Linked DNA regions of Homo sapiens: all the other regions are linked to region 1. Evidence: promoter capture Hi-C in 16 types of primary human blood cells and fetal thymus (Javierre and others, 2016). All regions are on one chromosome and are shown on one strand. The core of a region is centred on a gene start or on the middle of the fragment in contact, and the rest is flanking DNA. Distances in the headings are between cores, read along the strand shown. Region 1 holds the start of FZD4 (frizzled class receptor 4). Region 2 overlaps LOC107984361 (a long non-coding RNA gene). Region 3 has its middle 300 kb from the start of TMEM135. Region 4 overlaps TMEM135 (transmembrane protein 135). Region 5 overlaps LOC107984361 (a long non-coding RNA gene). Region 6 overlaps TMEM135 (transmembrane protein 135). Region 7 overlaps TMEM135 (transmembrane protein 135).

Region 1 (2,700 bases), core at 143-2,642:
GAAACACATACACACACACACACACACACACACACACACACACACACCCCAATCACCAAGTTCTTCAGCATTTATTATGTGTCAGACACTGCTAAATGATTTACAGGTATTATCTCACTGAACTCTTAGAACAACTGTGTGAGGTGGATATGAACTTCCCCACTTTACAGCCGGCCACTTTGAGGCTCAGAGAGGCACCATAGCTTCAACACAGTCAAGCAACAAGTAAACGGTGGAGGAATCCACCTGCTGGGAGTTTACTGGCCGACTGGAAAGCAGAGAGAGGGTGGACCAGCACAAAGCCGCGGGGGGCTGGTAATGAGACAGGAAAGTTGGGTTCAAACCTGGGTCACATGATCCCCAGATCCCTAGGAGCCGAAGCAGAAGCAAAGAAAAAAAGGGGTGCAGCCTGGTGGGGAGGGGGTGCCCGGGAGGCCGGGAGAGAGGAGTCACGGTGGTTGTGCGCCTTCCTCGTCCCCAGTGCACAGGTCAAGCCTCTCCCCTCCCGCCCTCTCACCCTCCCAACCTTATTTAGAAACCGTGTCCCCGAGACAGGAAGGGCGGCGGGCCGAGAAGCACGGAGAGTCCCGGTCTCATTTCCTTTCGAATCCCCCTGTGGAATTTCATTTCATACGGTGAGGAAATCAGAGCGCGAGACCGTCGGCGGGTCTGCAGCTCCGCAGCTCTGGGGCGCCTCCCCGCTGGCGGCTGGAGGTGGGCGGCTCCCTGCGCAGGTCGGGCGAGTCTGGGGGCGGGGAGAGGCCGGGCCCCGATCGCCGCTGGTCCGGAGTGAAAATAGCTGTGGACTCACGCAGTACCAGGCACCATGCTAAGCCTTCTACACTTTATCTCTAATCCTCCCAAGTGACTTTACAGAGGAGACTGACGCCGAGGGGTTGAGCAATTTGCTCAAGGTCACACAACCGGGACTGAAAGCCACAATCGGTGTAAATCCAAATCCCCAATTCTTTGTGTACGTTTCTCTGCCTGACGGGGAGGTGGCCACCGGCCTAGGTTACAGCTGAAAGGAGACAGGAAGGAAAGGGGGCAGATGGAACAGGGCGCACTTCTCACCTGCAGAAGGGGGCAGGACGGCGTGGCTGGAGCCACTGGGCTGCGTCCCTGCTTGGCCCCTGCGCGCCTAGATCCGGGTGGGAGGAAAGCAAGAGCCGGGAGGCGGGCGGGGCGGGGCGCTAGGGGAGGGAGGGAGGGAGGGGCGGCCGGAGGAGGGGGCCGGAGGGCGGGGGCCTGACTCCTCCTGCGGGAGAGCGGCCCCGCCCCGCCGCCTCGCCCCTAGCTGCCCACCGCGCCCGGCCATTGGAGAGGCCCGCTGTCCGTCCCGCCCCGCCGCCGCGCCGCGAGCCTCCAGCGCCGCGCAGGGCTCCGGCGGTGAGAGCTGCGCAGCGCTGGCTGCTGGCTGGCCTCGCGGAGACGCCGAACGGACGCGGCCGGCGCCGGCTTGTGGGCTCGCCGCCTGCAGCCATGACCCTCGCAGCCTGTCCCTCGGCCTCGGCCCGGGACGTCTAAAATCCCACACAGTCGCGCGCAGCTGCTGGAGAGCCGGCCGCTGCCCCCTCGTCGCCGCATCACACTCCCGTCCCGGGAGCTGGGAGCAGCGCGGGCAGCCGGCGCCCCCGTGCAAACTGGGGGTGTCTGCCAGAGCAGCCCCAGCCGCTGCCGCTGCTACCCCCGATGCTGGCCATGGCCTGGCGGGGCGCAGGGCCGAGCGTCCCGGGGGCGCCCGGGGGCGTCGGTCTCAGTCTGGGGTTGCTCCTGCAGTTGCTGCTGCTCCTGGGGCCGGCGCGGGGCTTCGGGGACGAGGAAGAGCGGCGCTGCGACCCCATCCGCATCTCCATGTGCCAGAACCTCGGCTACAACGTGACCAAGATGCCCAACCTGGTTGGGCACGAGCTGCAGACGGACGCCGAGCTGCAGCTGACAACTTTCACACCGCTCATCCAGTACGGCTGCTCCAGCCAGCTGCAGGTGGGCGCCCCCACCCCCACCCCTGGCGGGACCCCTTGGGGAGGGACGCTCCAAACTAACTTTGCAGAGCCCATGCCAAGTTGATCATCCTAGCCCGAAGGAGACAGCTCTCCTGGAAAAGTGATTTCCATCCCCACCCCCACTTTCTCAGGGACTGGAAGCCAAAACGTTGTGTAAGTCATCTGGCCTGGGAAAGAACCCACTCTTACACCCCGCCCTTCCGTTTTTCTCTCTTGCCCACCCATGTCTGGCCCAGACCCCTAACCCCAGTGGAGCTGAGGGTTATCTCTGCCAAGGATTCTGGCCGCCACTGCTCGGTGGGCGAGTGGGAGGGAGCCAGCTGCAGCTAAGACTTGGAGGGAGTGATAAGGAGACCATCCTTCACCGAACTTCCTTCTCCCCACTATTTTTGGGGTGTTATTAAATGAAACACTACTGCACCTTTTTCTGCTGAATAGCCCCTTCTCACGACGTCCCGCAGCGTTTTAGAGGTCATGCATGAAGGAGTGGTTGGGTTGGCTTGAGTTCTTTCTTATCCTCACAGTTGAAGGCACGTTTAATGCTTGGAGGGTGAGAAGAAGCTGCAGGAAGGTGGTTGGTATATTGGAAGAAATTTTTTTGCAGTCATTAAAAAATGTAAAGCATATCTAATGATAGAGAAAATGTTTATTCCACAGTAATAAGAATTTGCATATACAGGGTGATTATAATCCT
Region 2 (2,700 bases), core at 131-2,630, 460 kb before region 1:
TAGAAATACTTTTATTTCCTCTCTTCCTATTTGGATGCACTTTATTTCTTTCTCTTGCCTGATTGCCCTGGCCAAAACTTTTAATACTAAGTTGAATAGGAGTGGTGGGAGAGGGCATCTTTGTCTTTTGCCAGTTTTCAAGGGGAATGCTTTCACCTTTTTCCCATTCAGTATAATATTGGCTGTGGGTTTGTCATAGATGCTCTTATTACTTTAGGTATGTTCCTTCAATACCTAGTTTATTGAGAGTTTTTAACATAAAGTGGTGATAAATTTTATCAAAAGACTTTTCTGCATCTATTGAAATTATCATGTGGTTTTTGTCTTTACTTCTGTTTATGTGTTGAATCACATTTATTGATTTGCATACGTTAACCAACCTTGCATCCCAAAGCCTACTTGAACATGGTAAATAAGCTTTTTAATATGCTGCTGGGTTTGGTCTGCTAGTATTTTGTTGAGAATTTTTGCATCTATGTTCATTGAGGATGTTGGCATGAAGTTCTTTGTTGTTGTTGTATCTCTGCCAGGTTTTGGTATCTGATGATTCTGGCCTCACAGAATGAGTTAGGGGTGACACCCTTCTCAATTTTTTGGAACAGTTTCAGCAGGAGTGGTACTAGCTCTTCCTTTTATATCTGGTAGAATTCAGCTGTGAATCCATCTGGTCCTGGGCTTGTTTTGGTTGGTAGGTTATTCATTACTGACTCAATTTCAGAGCTCGTTATTGGTCTGTTCAGGGATTCAATTTCTTCCTGGCTCAGTCTTGGGAGACTCTCTTCAGCCAAGCTTCTGTGTCTTCCCTCCATTCACTCCTGGCACATTCCCTCTGAAGATCTGTTAAAAGCACACCAGTCAACTTAGTCCCTCGGTGGTAGCTGTTTCACCTGGCTGCATCTGTTCAGCCATCTTGTCCTCTGACCCAGCTTTATTCTTTTTGCATAGGATTGCTTTGGATATTCAGGCTCTTTTTTGGTTCCATACAAATTTTAGAATTTTTTTTTTTTCCGTGAACAATGACATTGATATATTGATAAGGATTGAACTGAATTCGTAGATTGCTTTGGGTAGTATACCCATTTTATAAAAATCCTCCTTCCAAAATATTTATGGAGAATTCCTGGGAATACTTTATACTCTTATCTCAGTATCAGTGAAGATCACCACCCCGTTCTGCAGCCAGCACTAACCCAAGATCCTGACAGTTCAACAAAGGGTCTTTGACAGCACTGAATCTGTGTCCAGAATGCCATGACTGATATAAGACAATACCACTGCCCCTTAATGCCTGGAGGAAATAGCTCCTGCAATGTTATGATTAGCTGGCAGAGAGAGTTCCCAAAGCAAAATTGTTTGAACCCAAAGCATCATAATCATTAGTGACCTAATGCCTACCTTCTAGGATTCAAACAAGCCCACAGGGTGGTAGGAATAGGATAAATGCTGACATTAGCTACCTCCATCCACCCAGAACCAGCTCTTCTTTCCAGCATTGAGAAGTGTCCTGGAATCTGCTGTGTCCCTTCTTCTCTTAGGGCAGTAGTTCTCAACTGGGGAAACGTTTGCTCTCCAGGGTACATTTGGCCTTGTCTGGAGACATTTTTTGGTTCTCTCAACTAAGGACAGTGCTACCGGAATTTAGTGGGTAGAGGCCAGGGTTACTGCTAAACTCATAATGCACAAGACATCCTCCTGTATCAAAGAATTGTCTAGACCAAAATATCAATAATGCTAATGCTCAGAAATCCTATCACAGGACGATTTATTCCTCAGGAACCCTATTGTCTCTCCTGATTTGGCCTCTATGGAAACCATTCTTGTCTATAAAGCAAATTTCTTTATGTCTAAACACCAAGGTAGAGAGAACTTAAGTCTTAGTCCCAGTCCTTGACCCTTATGTAACACAGCAGATAAAAATAATCATGTATTAAGGACCTTTCCTAATTCTTTTATCTGAAGTTTCTAAGCTTTAGCCCCTGCTCATTTGAGCTATTACATGGAAAGTAACTCACAGCATATTCTTTCATTCAACAAATATTTAATGAGCACCTACTATGTAGTAGACATGGTACTAGACATTAGATACACAATGATTAACCAAACAGACTATTCCCCTGCCCTCATGGAGCTTACAGTATGAAAAAGAACAAACAGTAAACAAATAAATCTATAATTACAAATGCTAATGCATGCCATGAAGGAAAAGCATAGGGTACTATGAGGGTAAATAATGGAAAAGACAAATTTTAGGTAGGAAAGGCAGAGGGTGACCTCTGTATAGAAATAATCTCTGGGTTGAGGCCTGAAGGAGGCATAGAAGTTAGCTCAGTGAAGAGAGAGGGGAAGGAAGAAAATATGCAAAAAGCTCTTGTGTGAGAAACAGATTGGCGTCATCGAGTAGCAGAAAAAAGGGATGTGTGGCTGCATGTGATGTGATCTAATTTATTTTTGAAAAGATCATTCTGTCTGTCATGTGAATGATGGGTTGGAGGATCACAAGCAGAAGTGAGAGATCTATGAAAAGAAAAATTCCATGGCCCAGGAGGCAGATGGTGGTGACCTGGCCTGCAGGATAACAGTGGAGATAAGACCAGGTCTTTGAATGAGGTTCTGCCCTCTGAAACAGAAGTCTACATCCAGGGATGGCCACTGCCTGAGACACTTTGGGAGACCAAATATCTTCACCTGAACAACTGCCCA
Region 3 (2,842 bases), core at 148-2,647, 380 kb before region 1:
AGTCCCAGCTAATCAGGAGGCTGAGGCATGAGAATTGCTTGAATTCGAGAGACAGAGGTTGCAGTGAGCTGAGATTGCACCACTGCACTCCAGCCTGGGCGACAGATCAAGACTCTGTCTCAAAAATTAAAAAAACAAATAAAAAACAAAAACAAAAAAACCCTGATATACTGTGTATAATTCCATTTACATAAGGTTCAAGAACTTGTCAATGTAATAATCTCTAGTGCTTGGGAATGCCCATTAAGGTAGACATGATTATTATAAAAAGAACAGTGGCTATCTCTGGGAGAGGTAAGCATTACGATTACAAGAGGGTACAAAATAGGCTTCTGAGGGTGCTGGCAACATTCTACTTGTTGATTTTGGTGTACGATATATGTATATTTCACAATAAAAGGTTTTAAAAACTATTAGCATGTTGCACATGTCACTGGCTCATTCTTCTCATTTCTGCAAAGTATTTTATTATATGGATATACAAAATTTGTTTATCCATTCACCTACCGAAAGACTTTTAGGTTCTTTCAACTTTTTGGCTATTACAAATAAAGCTGCTGTGAACATTCATATATAAGACTTTCATTTCTCTTGGGTAGCTATGGCTGTGATTGAAATGCCTGAGTCATATGCTACTGTATGTTTAGCTTTTCAGAGATGAACAAATTGTTTCAATTAGGTTGCTCTAATTCACATTCCCATTAGCAATATATGACAGTTCAAGCTTCTCCACATCCTTGCTAGCAGTTAGTATAGTTTTTGTAGTTAGTCATTTCAGTGAGTGTATAGTGGTGTCACATTGTGGTTCTAATTGACATTTAATCTGCAACTGGTTTTAATTTGCAATGATGTGGAGCACCTTTTAATGCACTTATCTGCCATCCACGTATCTTCTTATGTAAAATGTGTTCAAATCTTTTGCCCATTTAAAAAAAATCAGACTGTTTTTCGTATTATTGAGTTTTGAGCACACTGACTATGTTATCCCATTGCCTTCTGGCCTTTATTGTTTCTGCTAGGAAGTCAGCTGTTAATCTTGGAGGTTCCTTTGAAAGTGATAGATTATTTTTCTCTTCTTTCAAATTATCTCTTTGTCTTTTTCCACATTTTTCCTATAATATGTTTATCTATGGCTCTCTTTGTGTTTACCTAATTCGGAGATCATTGAGTTTCCTGGATGTGTAGGTTATTGTTTGTCAATAAATTTGGGAAGTTTTCAGCCATTATTTCTTCCAGTATTTTTTTACCTAACTCTTTCCCTCTTCTTCCCTCCCCTCCCCTCCTCCTGATAATCCTGATACTCACATTACATGTGTATCAGTGTACTTAATGGTATCTCGCCTTTCTCTGAGGTTCTGTTTACTTTCCTTCATTCTTTTTTCCTGTTCTTTGGAACGCATAATCTCTATTGACCAATCCTTAAGCTCAGAAATTCCTTCTGCTGCCAATTCAAATCTATTGTTGAGCACTTCTAATACATTTTTAAATTTTAGTTATTGTACTTTAAACTCCAGAATTTCCATTAAGAAATCTATCTTTATTGATATTCTCTATTTGATAAAACATTATCACTATACCTTCCTTTACCTTTTTTAGTCAAGCTGTCCTTCAGTTCTGTGAACATATTTATAATGGTTACTTTAAAATCATTTCCTATTAAAGCCAACATCTGGCCACTCTCATGGGCAGTTTCTGTTGCCTGGTTATTTTTATTTTACGTTTTTGGTTTTTTTTTTTTCATTGCATGGGTCACACTTTCCTGTTTCCTTGCATGACTCAAAAATTTTTTTGTTGGAAACTGAATATTTTAGATAATATATTGTAGGAACACTGGATAATGAATACCCCACTCTGAGCTTTGTTGTTGCTTGTCTGCTGGTCTAGTGACTGGTTGAATTATTTTAGTGAAGTCTATTTCTCCCCTACAGTGTCCAGCCTCTGATGTTGCTCTTCAGGATGGTACAGCTTTGGGTATGCCTACAGTCACTGGGGATGACAGTGGTACTGGTAGGGCTCCTTTCCATCTTTCCCTGACTTTGGAGCTGGAGAGTAAGGACAATGGCAAGCTTCTCTCCAAGTGATTCTCACATACTAGGAGCTGAGAATTCAGTGGGAATGGGGAGTAGCTGCAGTCTGGTCCTCTCAGCTTGCCTCTTCTGGCATGGACCTACCACCTTAATAAGGGCTCAATATTCTCTGCATGGGAGAAGGGTTATAAGGACCCAATATTTTCTGTTTGCTACACCTAAGGTAGAACCTCCATTCCAAGAGTAAGAGTTCGGTAGAAGAAAGGAGCTTCCACCTCTCAGTCACATTCACCTGGGATTTAACCTCAGCAACAGGCAAGAAGGGGCAGGATGAGAGTTGTTAAGTGCTATCTCTACTGGAAAAAAAAAAAAAAGCCTTTGATTGGGAACCAAGGAGGGAAAGAGCCTTGTGTTGTTGGCTGCAGTTATCTAGAGTGGAGTCACTACCTTGCTGAGCTGGGAGTGGGGAGGGTGGAAGAAGTCTTGGTTCAAATATCACAGAATCTCACCTTTCTTACTAAATTTTCTAAAAGAGATGTTTCTTCATTTGCTCTTTGTCCTGAGGACCATTTCCAGAGACTCTAAATGGCTGGAGATTTTAACAATGTTTTTCTCCTTCAAGCAGCAGAGACAGAAAAAATAATAACTTTCACTAGTTTCACCGGGGAATGTGTCAGCAGAACTCCTCATGCTGTTATGCCAGAAGTCAATCTTCCTATTGAGTTCCAACAGTTCTTTATATATTGCAGATAAAGCTCTTTACTGGACTGCGATTTGCAAATATTTTCTCCCAGTATGTAAGCTGTCTTTTCATT
Region 4 (2,700 bases), core at 200-2,699, 280 kb before region 1:
TGGCATTTAAATCTTGGGCCATCCTAACACTCTTCCCCTTAGCCCCCAACAAACCTGAGACCAGTGTCAATGAAAAGTACAACTTTGACATTATAACAAACAATATTTTACAGACTATCATTAATGTGCTAGGTTATCCTTGCAGAAGGCTTAGATAGAGATCTACTGTCATTTTTTCTTATCCAAATGTAAAATGTTGATTGTTTTACAAGCAGAGTGAAAAACACTTAGGTATTTACATACAATCAGGTCCATAAAAGATAAAAATTCACTTATCAGGATTTGAGTCCTATTAATTGACATATTCAACTTTCTAGGATGAACTTATAAATAGAATGGGGGGTGGGGAGAATAAGTCTTCCTTCCCTCTCTTTCTCTTTTCTTAACTCACAAAGGAGCAATGATTTACCTCTGTCCACTCTGGGCGGGGGTGCGGGGGGAGTATGCTGCTTGTAAGGGATAATTATTTGGAGAATACTTTAGTTTCGTGGTTGATGAAATTACAAAGAGATACTGTTTGGGGTATTAAAGTAAATAAGTATAACAGAACATACCTGAAAAAGAACATGTACATGGCAGCTGTGATGCAAAACAAAAGGACCTGTAACAAAGAGAAAATATATTACTTGCAAAAGAACACTGACATCACCATTTGAGTGACTCATAAAAGCAAAATACTATTAAATCTTGTGCCTGAAACAATAAAAGGATATACAAACCAGTCACACACATTTCATATTCCTCAACCTTTCATATAAACGAAGCTTGTTCAACCTGCAGCCTGCAGGCTGCATGAGCCCCAAGACAGCTTTGAATGTGGTCCAACAAAATTTGTAAACTTTCTTTAAACATTGTGATTTTTTTGCAATTTTTTTTTAGTTCATCAACTATCATTAGTGTTAGTGTATTTCAAGTATGGCCCAAGACAATTTTTCTTCTTCCAATGTGGCCCAGAAAAGCTAAAAGATTGGACACCCCTAATATAGCCCATATTAGGAGAATAAATTGCAATACTTATATGTAACTATCATCATGTATATAATTATATATAATACATACATATATAGACGGGATAGAAGGGTAACAGGGTTCACAAAAAAGGGAACAGCTAATTTTTAACTGTCTGTTAGAAAGCCTAAACATGCAAGCTTAACTTAAAAACAAGGACAACAGCTTTTGTATAATCAGTTCAGTGAATAAATCAGAAAGGTTATTAACTATGATATGAAGATGACCAGATCTTCTAATGTAAAATATAGTCCAGTTGTCAACCAATTCTAATCAATAAGAAAAGCTCATAAAAATACAATATTCCTTTGTGGAATACAGACTAGCTATAAAAGTAATTCCTCTAGAAGCAGGCACAAGAACATCTGAAATGATGATCTCAAAAACATCACAGTAAACACAACATATTAAGATGGTATGTTGAAGGAACCCAGAACTCCAGTCCTGACTAACGTCTTAGTTATACCAAAAAAACAGATTAGAAAAGTTGTTTTAAATCACAAAAATTAAAATTGTAGAATGCATTCTTATGTTAAAAAACAACAGTACAAATTAAGCCTAAGAATCGTCAATGGCCTCACATCACAGACAAATAAGAAATGAACCTTCTTTCTATTGTGAAAGGGTGACCACAAGAACAGAAATGAAAACACTGCAAAAAATGTTTTGCTATTTCTAACACAAATAATTTCTAGTCAACCTGATGAAAGCATGGTAGTTTTGCCATTACAAATCAAGCTTGACAAGTTTGCTGTCTTAGCCTAAGATAAGCATTATACATACAGCCTGAATGACTTAGAAATATATAAATATACCAATGAAAAAGAGGATTGTTATCAATTAATATGAAGTAAATATTATATATATTTATGTAACATTTTATATCTATAAAATCTTTCTGTGCTAAACACACATACTCTCCTCCCCTCCCTCTTTCCCTCCTTCCTTCCTCTCTCCATCTCTCTTCTCCACTGACTTAAAACACCCTATCCATGATGCATAAGGTTCATTTTACCATTTCACTGTTTTTAGAAACATAACTTAAAGCATGTAAAATAACTTTCAGTTATTCTAATTGATTATAAATTGAAGTCTAAGTGGGTTTATTTACTGGTTATAATTTGCCTAACAAAACCCAGTCATGACACTCAATTTTTTTAAATTTCTCTATCATTCAATCCCCGTTGGACAATGTCATCCTTCCCAGATGTTCAATGCTTCAGACTTTTCCTGCACTAATCAGTGTCCCCCTTGCAGATCACACTAAAAACCTCTCTAGAAGTATCCCACAAATCTTTCACACACTCTTCATCTTCTCTAAATATCCAAAGTCTGCCTTCCCTCAAAATGTTGCCAGGTTCTATCCTAATATGCTAACCTATCTGTGTTCGTACTAAACTGATAATTATCTTTACAAATAATACACTTGAAACTGAGAAAAAGTACAATGTTTAAGAACTCAAGCTTTAGAGTAAGATAGATCTGGGTTTGAATCTTAGTTCTGGGTAACTCTAGATACTTTATATAATTTCCCTAAACCTTAGACCCCTTATCTATAAACTGAGAATAATATCATACTTCGAATTATTTAGAAGAATTAGTGAGATGATGCATATAAAAGTGGAGGCATCAGCAGATTGTTTTTATCTTGTTTTGTAACTGACATAAGTGATCTAGATAGAAAAACCTAAC
Region 5 (2,948 bases), core at 181-2,680, 480 kb before region 1:
CATTTGAGGACTTTGGGGATAAAGAGAAGACTCTAAAACCCACAAAAAAGAAAAACAGTAGTGATATACTAGAGACTAAGAATCAGTATTGTATTATTTAAGGCAACACTGGAAGCCAAAAATCAATGCAACAAAGCTTTCCCAATTCTGAGGGTTTTAACCCAAAGTCATAACCAGACACGTTGTCATTTAAGTGTAAGTATGTGGAAAATGCATTTTCATATAGGCAACTTTTAAAAAAAAAAGGCTTTCCTTAAATTCCTTTTCTGGGAACCACCACATGTTATTCTCCACCAAAGTGAGGAAATACATCAAGAATTTTTTAAAATAGGGTCTAGAAAACAGGAGAGCTAACACAGGAAAGGGATAAAGGGAAGTCCCAAGATGACAGCTGTGCAGTGGGTCCTGGAGAGCCACCAGTCCAGACTGTATCAGAAAGACAATTCCAGAAAGAAGGTTTCCAGGAAAAATAAAAACAAAAACAGAAAAACAGACTGGTAGAATACCTGGTGAGTTTGACTATGAGGCAGATAAAAATACTAAAGTGGATTTTTTAATTAAGCCAAAGAAGATTTTTTTAAAACAAAATAGGAACATAAAAATGTAAGTAAAAGACAAAAAAAAAAAAACCCTGCAATTAACAATTCCAGAGGAATTGATCAAGTGTATTACTTGTCTCAGCATAAAAAAAAAAAAAAAAAAAAACACTCCATTGGAACAGCTCACACAGTTGCTTGAAAGATCCATGTCATTTCCCTTCTTAAAACACATCAGTGAATCCCCATGTCTTTCCAGGCACTCAGAGTTTTATGAACCTAAATAAATTCCATCACTTTTCAATGAGTAATCTAAATTCCAGAGAGGTGACCTGACTTGGCCAAGTGTTTTAATCAAGTGAGGCATAAGCCTGAAAGAACTCAGGTTTCTGTCTTCTAATTTACTTCCCCTTCCACTGCCAGCCCAGGTGACAGAAACACCATCTCCTGTTTTTATTTTTGAAATCACAATAGTATACAATTCCCCATTGGAACATACATTCAATTCCAAGAGCTATTTACTTATTCAGCTATCCCCTACCTGTTAAAAATAGAACACAGGATTATTTCTTTGATATTGTTCTTTCACAACCTACAAAGAGATAAGGACCTGGAATGAGCTACCATGAAACGCTCACTGACCCAGGGGAGGCTCTGGCCAAATGAGCTACCATGAAATGCTCACTGACCCAGGGGAGGCTCTGGCCAATCTCTGCCGTGTTGCAGCACCTATCCTCCCACAATCCTGGTAAAACAAGGCATGAAGCAATGGGCAGTTTTAAGATAGATAATGGGGACAAGTGGGACCATAACCTCAGTGCTCATGACTTAAGGCTGCTTCAATCCAGCTACTGTTGCAGTAGATCCAGGAACACTGCCTTTCTTTCTTGGCATCTATTCGAACATTCACCAAATCTCTATGGGTGTCTGCTCTGGTGAGGCAATGGGCCCGCCTTCAGTATACAGTGGTGAGAAAGATAGATAGCCCTTCACAAAGGCTAAGGTCAAGAATCTAGTGAAAGTTGACAGAGTTCACATGCAAATGTGGAGGGTATTGGGTCAGAACCCGCCTCATATACATCAACACATACCCCATATCACAACCACAGCCTGCCTGACAAACCTTAGCCCTAATATTTTGAATCATCCAAAACAGAATGGGCTGCTGCCTTGGGGGTATCAAGTTCCCTGTCATTGAAGGTTGATTGATCACAGGCAGAGGAGTCAAAATGCAAGTGTGACTTTAGATGGTAAGGCCTGCCCTTTCCCCATTTTCGATGCCTGATGAAATCCTACTCCTCCATCAGGAGCAGGTTCAAGTGTCCTGTCCTGACACTTCTCAGCAGTGTTCGACATCCACACTCTGGGTTGCTGTGGCTCTCTGATCTGTTCACTACTGTTTCCCTCGTGCTGTTTCTTGACAGGAGCTGGCCCATAATTTTTTGTTTACAAATCTATTTCTTCACTAGAGAGAGAGGATGGTTTTTTTCCTATCAGCAAATGCCTGGTGCATTGGAGGTGCTCAAGCTGTGTTTGGTGAAGGAATAAAGCCAACCTTATTCCTCTCTATTCTACAACTGGACCATCCTTGAATAGTCTGCTTCCACGCCCTCAAACACAGCAAGGTCGATCCCACCTCCTAATCTCGGCTTGTGCTGTTTCCTGCCTGGAATGCCCTCATCTCTCATTATCTCAACAAACATTTTTGAATGCCTACTGTGTGCCAGACATTGTGCCAAGGATTGGCAAAACACTTCCCTCCTCTCCTATAGCTTAGAGCAAAGGCATGTAAAAGAGCAGATAATTATAAATTGGCATAATGAGTAGTGATATGATAAGTAAGCACAGGGTGTTGTGGGATCCCAGAGATACCCCCAGCCCTAACTCACGAGGTTGAAAAAGCCTCACCAGAGGAGGTGGCATTGTTGCTGCACCCTGAAGGTGTAGTTAGGGTCAGCCAGGTCAAGGAAGTGAAAAGAGAGTCTTGGGTGCACGCCCTTCCTGTCACCCTTCCTACCTGTCCCACTTCAAGGCCCACCTTCTCCAGGAAGCCAACCCCAGCTTCCCCAGTAGTTTTGGCCCTCACTGAGCACTCTCCATTGTACTCCTACATCCACGTGCTCTATAACTGTGGTTCCAGTAAGGAATTGATACAGTTGGCTGTCTGAGAATTCTTCAAGAAAGCTTGCTAAAAAAAAGAAAAACAAGAACAAAACACAGGTTTCTCAGTCTATTCCCAAATATACTGATTTAATTAGAATCTGTACTTTCCATGGGCTCCCCAGGTGAGTCTCCTGTCCAAACAAGTGTGGGAATTACGACCATACACCATTCCTTCCCACATACGCTACACCAAGCTATGTTTATTTTCTAGTGAGATGTTAATGCCATTTTCTCGCCTCTGTTTTTGAT
Region 6 (2,935 bases), core at 104-2,603, 300 kb before region 1:
TTTCCATTTGTGCTATCTATGCTAATTCTTAAAAATGTCTGAAATAGACCCATGGAAGAGGAAAAAAATGTAACATGATATATATATGTAGTGTGTGTGTGTATTCCCGCTCTACACGCGTACACACATACACATATACACACACACATAAAATTTCCTTCTGGGTGTTGTCATTCATTTCAAAAATTATCCATGGCAAGTACAGTGGTTTGGAAATATCTTTTCCCTATCCTTTTTTTCCACTTCTGGTGTCCCCTACAGCCATGGCCGCTGTCGCAGGGGAACCCCTATCCCCGGAGGAATTGCTCCCAAAAGGCGACGTGGAGAAGACTAAGGAGGAGTTGGAGGAGGACGACGAGGAGAAGCTAGATGAGACCTGGTCGGAGAGACTATGGGGCCTGATGGAGATGTTTCCGAAGAGGGTCCGGTCTGCGGCCAGAACCTCTTCTTTCTCTCCCTCTTTGTGGCTCACAAAATGTACAGGTTTCCCAGGGCAGCCGTGTGGATTGGGACCACTTCCTTTATGATCCTGGTTCTTCCCGTTGTCTTTGAGACTGAGAAGATGCAAACCGAGCAACAGCAGCAACTGCAGCAGCAGCAGATACTTCTAGGGCCTAACACAGGGCTCTCAGGAAGAATGCAAGGGGCTCTTCCTTCACTTCCTGGAAAGATCTAGATTGTTACTGCCGTATATGAGCTGTCTCCGTGGGAGAAGTCAGAAATTCAATTGTGTTTGAACTGCTGATTATTTGGATTTTTTTTTAACTTTGGCACATTGATCCATCTAAACCTGGTGGGAAGAAATCTCCCCACATTGTCTCATGAAGAGACTTAATTGCAACTGTGCCCTCCACACTATCCTGACTTACTTCAGTCTTCACTCTGATACCACAGTGCAGCCATGCAAATGGTTATTCCAGCTCTGGCCACACACTCTTTTCACAAAATTGCTCCTAACTGGAAGATCTCACTTTCTCCTGTGGGGTAGGAACTGACACCAGTGGGAGGGATGTGCCCCTGACCATTAATGACTGCTTTCTTTTTTTTCCTTAAAGAATGGAGCTGTTGGGGAGGGACATGCACACAATGTAAAACAGACAAAATGCATTACAACTGTGGTGTAATGTGGCCACTATGAATCCCTATGTATAAGAGGAAAGAGGCTGGCTGCAGCTTTAGCCACAGGATGGGGACTGGGGAAGACAGAGCAGGAGCTCATTTCCTCTGCACATTTTGGCTGTTAGATTTGTGTGTGTGTTTAAAAAAAGAGAAGCCAGTGCTCATTTTTTGTATTTAAATATTAAAAGTGATTCCAACTGAAAAAAAAAAAGGCTTTTCCCCAAAATAAACACAGAATACAGTAAAATAATTATTGTGTAAAATATAATCAATATCAATATATAATCAAATATATATAATATATGCAGAAAATATAATCAAGTTATTAACTGATTATATTTCTAAAGACTATAAATGTAATTTCTATTCATACTAAATTGGAATGTATTCTTAGAAAGGGACTTAGACGTACATATGGTATAGGAAGTACGTGCTTGTGGTCAGTTTGTATCTGGCAATCTGTGACTTAATTTTGATCAAGAATGTGCCAGATTTATATTTAAAAATACATTCACAGTTTTATTGAGATACCATTGAAATATTATACAATTCACTATCTAAACTGTATCAGTCAGTGGTTTCTGGTATATTCAGACTTGTGCAGCCATCACCACAATTACTTTTAGAACATTTTCATCAACCCTAAAAAAAACCCTTACCCATTAATAGTCATTCCCTACACTCCCAACTCCCCTAGGCCACCAATCTAATTTTTATCTCTACAGATTTTTCTATTCTGGACATTTTTGATAAATAGAATCATATAAATATGACGTTTACAGCTTAGATTTAAATAATAAAAACAACTAACATTTATTGAGTGCTTACTATGCAGTAGATATTCAATACAATAACCCCATGAGGTAAGTACTATTATTATCCCCACTGAAGACGAGAAATGTGAGGCACAAAGAGGCTACATAACTTACCCAAAGTCACAAAACAAGTAAGATGGAGAAGGATTTGAACCAACACAGCTGAACCCCAGAGTTCCCTCTCAACTACACTATAGTGTCTTTTGATTACCTCCGACACAGAACTTAAACAAAAGAAAATAACAGAAAGAAAGAATCAGGCTTGAGAAAGACACAGTGAGTTATAGCATAGCCCAATGAGTTATAGCACCTCACAAGCAGTAAAGCAAACAGTTAAATTTAACTGCTTCAAATTTGAGCATCTGTATCAGTAAAGTCTCATCTAAGAACTTTCTGTGATTAGTAATAATGCTCCTTAAACAAGAAGCAGACAGCATGCAAAAGAGGATTCCAGAACTCGAAAGGATATAATGTTTGGATGTTTAGTCACACTCAACATTGCTAAGAGTTATCACCAGTTTCTTAGTGAAGAACTGAAGATTAGTATAAGAATCCATTTCTAGGGTTTATATGGAAATACAAAGGCATATAATCATATAGCCTACATAATATAATCTCATTTGAGAAGCTGAAAGACATATATACACATATACACATACACATACACACACACAAATGTGTGGAAGGAGAGAGGAAAGAAGTGAAGGCAGGAGGAAAGAAAGGGGCAAAGGAGGGAGGAAAAGAGGAAGAGTGAGGGCAAGCAGGACCAACAGACAGATAGAGGCATAGCCAACAGACTAAAAGTATACAAACAAAGCTGGTAGTTACTTGTCTTTGAAAGAAGAGATTATGGGTGATAATTATTATTATTTTGTTCAATCATATTTGCTCATTTTTCCACAATGAGCAAAAGACATGTTTTTGCCCCCAAAAAATCACTTTAATATAATCTTAATTTGAGGCCATTGTCCTCTAAAATACTCTACAGAACTCCAGTTATT
Region 7 (2,800 bases), core at 162-2,661, 360 kb before region 1:
ACAGAAACCATATCCTATACTTCTATATTCTTTCCAGTACCTAGCACAGTAATGAGAACATAATATATACTAAATAAATACATGCATTTGACTCAGAGGTTCCTAGAAAACAATGGTCTATACAGTTGATTTTTATATCATTTTCACTGTACAGTAATAGAACATTTTAATATAAAATTAACTTCAATCACAGAAAAATGATTGTCTATTACCAGAGCAATGAATTCCACAAAAGGACATAGCAAGCTTAAATTTCTAATATCCTATTTAAAAAAAAAAAAAAGTCTGCATCACCATAGTTTATATGCCAGTTTCTTTTGCCAGGATCAGATATGGCCTGATGACACAAGAAACAGAGAGATACCATTCCTTGCCTTAAAAAACTCTGGCCACTTAGCTGTAAAATACCTTTAATAAACTAGATCTCAATATTGGTTTCCTCTTGTGTTAAAGAATATATTTTTGCCACCTAAGGATTATTTTCTTTCTCTCAGTTCCCTTTTCCTCTCCATTAGCAAGTCTTGCCAATTCTACTCTTAAACATACACCAAATCTGTATAGTTCTCTCCATCTCTACTGCTATCATCCTGGTGCAAGCCACCATTTCCTGACACAGACTAACTGTTCTCTCAGCTTTGATCCTGCCTCCCTCTAAAATAGTGGCCAAAATGTTCTTCTTAAAATGTGAATTAAATACTGTCATTTCCATGCTTAAAACTCTTCAGTGGTTTCCAGTGCACTGAGAAAAAAACAAATTCTTTACCCCAGCTTTTAAAATCCTACATGATGGTCTGGCTCCTGCCTGTCCTCCTGATTTCATGATGTATATATTCTCTCAATCTCTCTCTCTTTCTCTGTCTCTCTCTCTCTCTCTCTCACACACACACACACACACATATATTTGGGTAAAGCAAGTAATTAAGTTAAATAAAATCTACACTCTTAACTTTGAATTAGAAATATCACTATGTTCCAAATGTATTTTCTGTTTCTAAAAAGCAAGGGGAGGGAGATTCTCTAGCTCCATTCACTGCGAAAGCCAAGAATCAGTAACTAGCCTGGGAGCAAATAACCTCTAGCACCTGGATTGAAATCTTTAAATACCATTTCCCACTAAAACAAACTAGGAGCCATTACAGAGAAGACTGATTCTACATCTGAGGCAGAAAATGTCCCAGATGAGCCCGGAATATATTGTCTTACAGCAAGAAAGCTATCAAAGATAATGGTGTTATGTTACAACAAGGAGGAGTCAACTTAAGGAAGCTCTCATGGCCAAAGATGGGAACAATTTGAGCATAATGAAAATAAATCATATATGTTAAACTCCAAATCTTCATAATGATACTTTAAAAATAAAGACTCATGGGTCAACTTTGCAGGATGCTAAGGTACTAACTCATTCTAAACACTGGTAATTAAAAATGAACTAATCAAGCATTTTATTTTGACTTTCCAGAACAACGTATTTCAGAGTAACCAAATAGTTGAAAAGGAAAAATGCATTTAGAACAATTTCAGCTAATAAACACAGAATAAAGAGTAATAGTATTTTTCATCATTTTGCAACTCTTAATGAAATAATGAATCCCAGTGATAATTATTAACAGCTGCGAAAACCAATAGCTATAGGGCTACTGGGGAACCTTATGTTGGCTCTATCAACACCTAAGCCCACTGATCAATCTTAGCATCACAAAAAGAGAGAGAACCAGACATTTTTGTGCCTCGTCATGTGATGATGCAATTGGAAGTTCACATACACAGTAAATGTGAAGTATGGCTGTTACCTCCTACAAAAATTTAAACCTGAATTTGCTTAGGTCTCAAGATCTAGTTAACAACTAAAAAAATTTATGAGTTAAAGAAACATGTTAAACAACAACAGTGAGGGTGCAATCAGCAAAATCCAGAATTTGGGAAATTCCATGAACTAATGACCTACATCTTCAACAAATAAATGTCAAGGAAGAAGGAGGAGGAGGAGAAGGAAGAGGAGGAGGAGGAGGAGGAGGAAGAAAAGCAGTAGCAGCAGTAGTAGGGGGGTAACTATTATAAACTACAAGAAACTTTGTTTGGAACTTGATTAAAATAAAATGATTGCAAAAACATATTTATAAGATAATCAGTGAAGACATAAACTCTAATTGGATATATTAGTATGGAATTACTGGGAGGGTTTTAATGTATGATAATGATACTGTGGTATTGTTGATTTGTTTGTTTTGAAAAAGCCTTTAGCCTTTATTCTTTAAGGAGTCTTTATGCTGAAATTTTTTTAAGGATGAAATTATATAGTGTCTGGGATTGGCTTTAAAATAACTCGATACCTGTGGGGTTGAGGAGTATAGATGAAAGGAGACTGGCCAAATACTGATAACTGTTGAAGCTGCATGATGGGTGCATGAGGGTTAATTACACTACTCTTTCTATACTTAATGTATATTTGAAAATAACACACACACAAAGAAAAACACAGGGGAATCAACTTTGCAAATACTTTTAGAGGATTAAAATTTATGTTTGCCATTGGGATATACATTTGCTGCTAAAACAGTCAGCAGCTAAAAGCTTTATGTTCTTTGGAACTATTCTTGCACAAAAATTTCGCTTACCTCTACCAATTTGGACGCTAAATACATGGAAATTGTTGTGCTTTTATAAAACATCATTGATATACCTGCCAAAAATCCTGAAACAAGAAATAAGAAATAACTGATAAGATCGCAGAGTATTTATTTGTTATTATGTCATCAGAAATGTTAATTCACTTACATAGAATCAGCACTATCTCTTGTTA

The links. Contacts are between HindIII fragments. The CHiCAGO score rates a contact against its expected background, and 5 or more counts as called.
Region 2: a contact is called between a fragment that was not itself captured here and the fragment with the promoter of FZD4 in region 1, in 1 of 17 cell types (total CD4 T cells). The highest score is 5.1, in total CD4 T cells.
Region 3: a fragment that was not itself captured here is called in contact with the fragment with the promoter of FZD4 in region 1 in 2 of 17 cell types (naive CD4 T cells and non-activated CD4 T cells); the score reaches 5.9 in naive CD4 T cells.
Region 4: a fragment that was not itself captured here is called in contact with the fragment with the promoter of FZD4 in region 1 in 9 of 17 cell types (endothelial precursors, erythroblasts, megakaryocytes and 6 more); the score reaches 7.9 in endothelial precursors.
Region 5: a contact is called between a fragment that was not itself captured here and the fragment with the promoter of FZD4 in region 1, in 1 of 17 cell types (total CD4 T cells). The highest score is 5.2, in total CD4 T cells.
Region 6: a contact is called between a fragment that was not itself captured here and the fragment with the promoter of FZD4 in region 1, in 16 of 17 cell types (erythroblasts, total CD8 T cells, endothelial precursors and 13 more). The highest score is 9.0, in erythroblasts.
Region 7: a fragment that was not itself captured here is called in contact with the fragment with the promoter of FZD4 in region 1 in 9 of 17 cell types (naive CD4 T cells, naive CD8 T cells, total CD8 T cells and 6 more); the score reaches 7.3 in naive CD4 T cells.

Annotation. Positions count from the first base shown.
Region 1 is chr11:86,954,087-86,956,786 of GRCh38, reverse strand. FZD4 (frizzled class receptor 4) reads left to right here and starts at 1,392. Exons shown (of 2, transcript NM_012193.4): 1 at 1,392-1,986. The coding sequence starts at 1,702. It overlaps FZD4-DT (FZD4 divergent transcript), which reads right to left and starts at 1,166. Exons shown (of 3, transcript NR_038905.1): 1 at 1,075-1,166. RefSeq lists silencers at 665-814, 1,165-1,534, 1,665-1,714. The HindIII fragment of the contact is 4,830 bases long and covers 1-2,700 here.
Region 2 is chr11:87,410,809-87,413,508 of GRCh38, reverse strand. All of the region lies in intron 2 of LOC107984361 (a long non-coding RNA gene), which reads right to left. Among named protein-coding and RNA genes, the nearest start is that of LINC02711, 310 kb to the left of the region's middle. The HindIII fragment of the contact is 1,178 bases long and covers 792-1,969 here.
Region 3 is chr11:87,336,417-87,339,258 of GRCh38, reverse strand. No RefSeq gene overlaps it. Among named protein-coding and RNA genes, the nearest start is that of TMEM135, 300 kb to the right of the region's middle. The HindIII fragment of the contact is 1,342 bases long and covers 727-2,068 here.
Region 4 is chr11:87,234,539-87,237,238 of GRCh38, reverse strand. It overlaps TMEM135 (transmembrane protein 135), which reads right to left. Exons shown (of 15, transcript NM_022918.4): 6 at 555-601. Among named protein-coding and RNA genes, the nearest start is that of TMEM135, 200 kb to the right of the region's middle. The HindIII fragment of the contact is 598 bases long and covers 1,151-1,748 here.
Region 5 is chr11:87,435,921-87,438,868 of GRCh38, reverse strand. All of the region lies in intron 2 of LOC107984361 (a long non-coding RNA gene), which reads right to left. Among named protein-coding and RNA genes, the nearest start is that of LINC02711, 280 kb to the left of the region's middle. The HindIII fragment of the contact is 2,584 bases long and covers 139-2,722 here.
Region 6 is chr11:87,256,590-87,259,524 of GRCh38, reverse strand. All of the region lies in intron 6 of TMEM135 (transmembrane protein 135), which reads right to left. It also overlaps the pseudogene LOC101929104. Among named protein-coding and RNA genes, the nearest start is that of TMEM135, 220 kb to the right of the region's middle. The HindIII fragment of the contact is 3,243 bases long and covers 1-2,935 here.
Region 7 is chr11:87,314,363-87,317,162 of GRCh38, reverse strand. TMEM135 (transmembrane protein 135) reads right to left here. Exons shown (of 15, transcript NM_022918.4): 12 at 2,616-2,692. Among named protein-coding and RNA genes, the nearest start is that of TMEM135, 280 kb to the right of the region's middle. The HindIII fragment of the contact is 2,325 bases long and covers 249-2,573 here.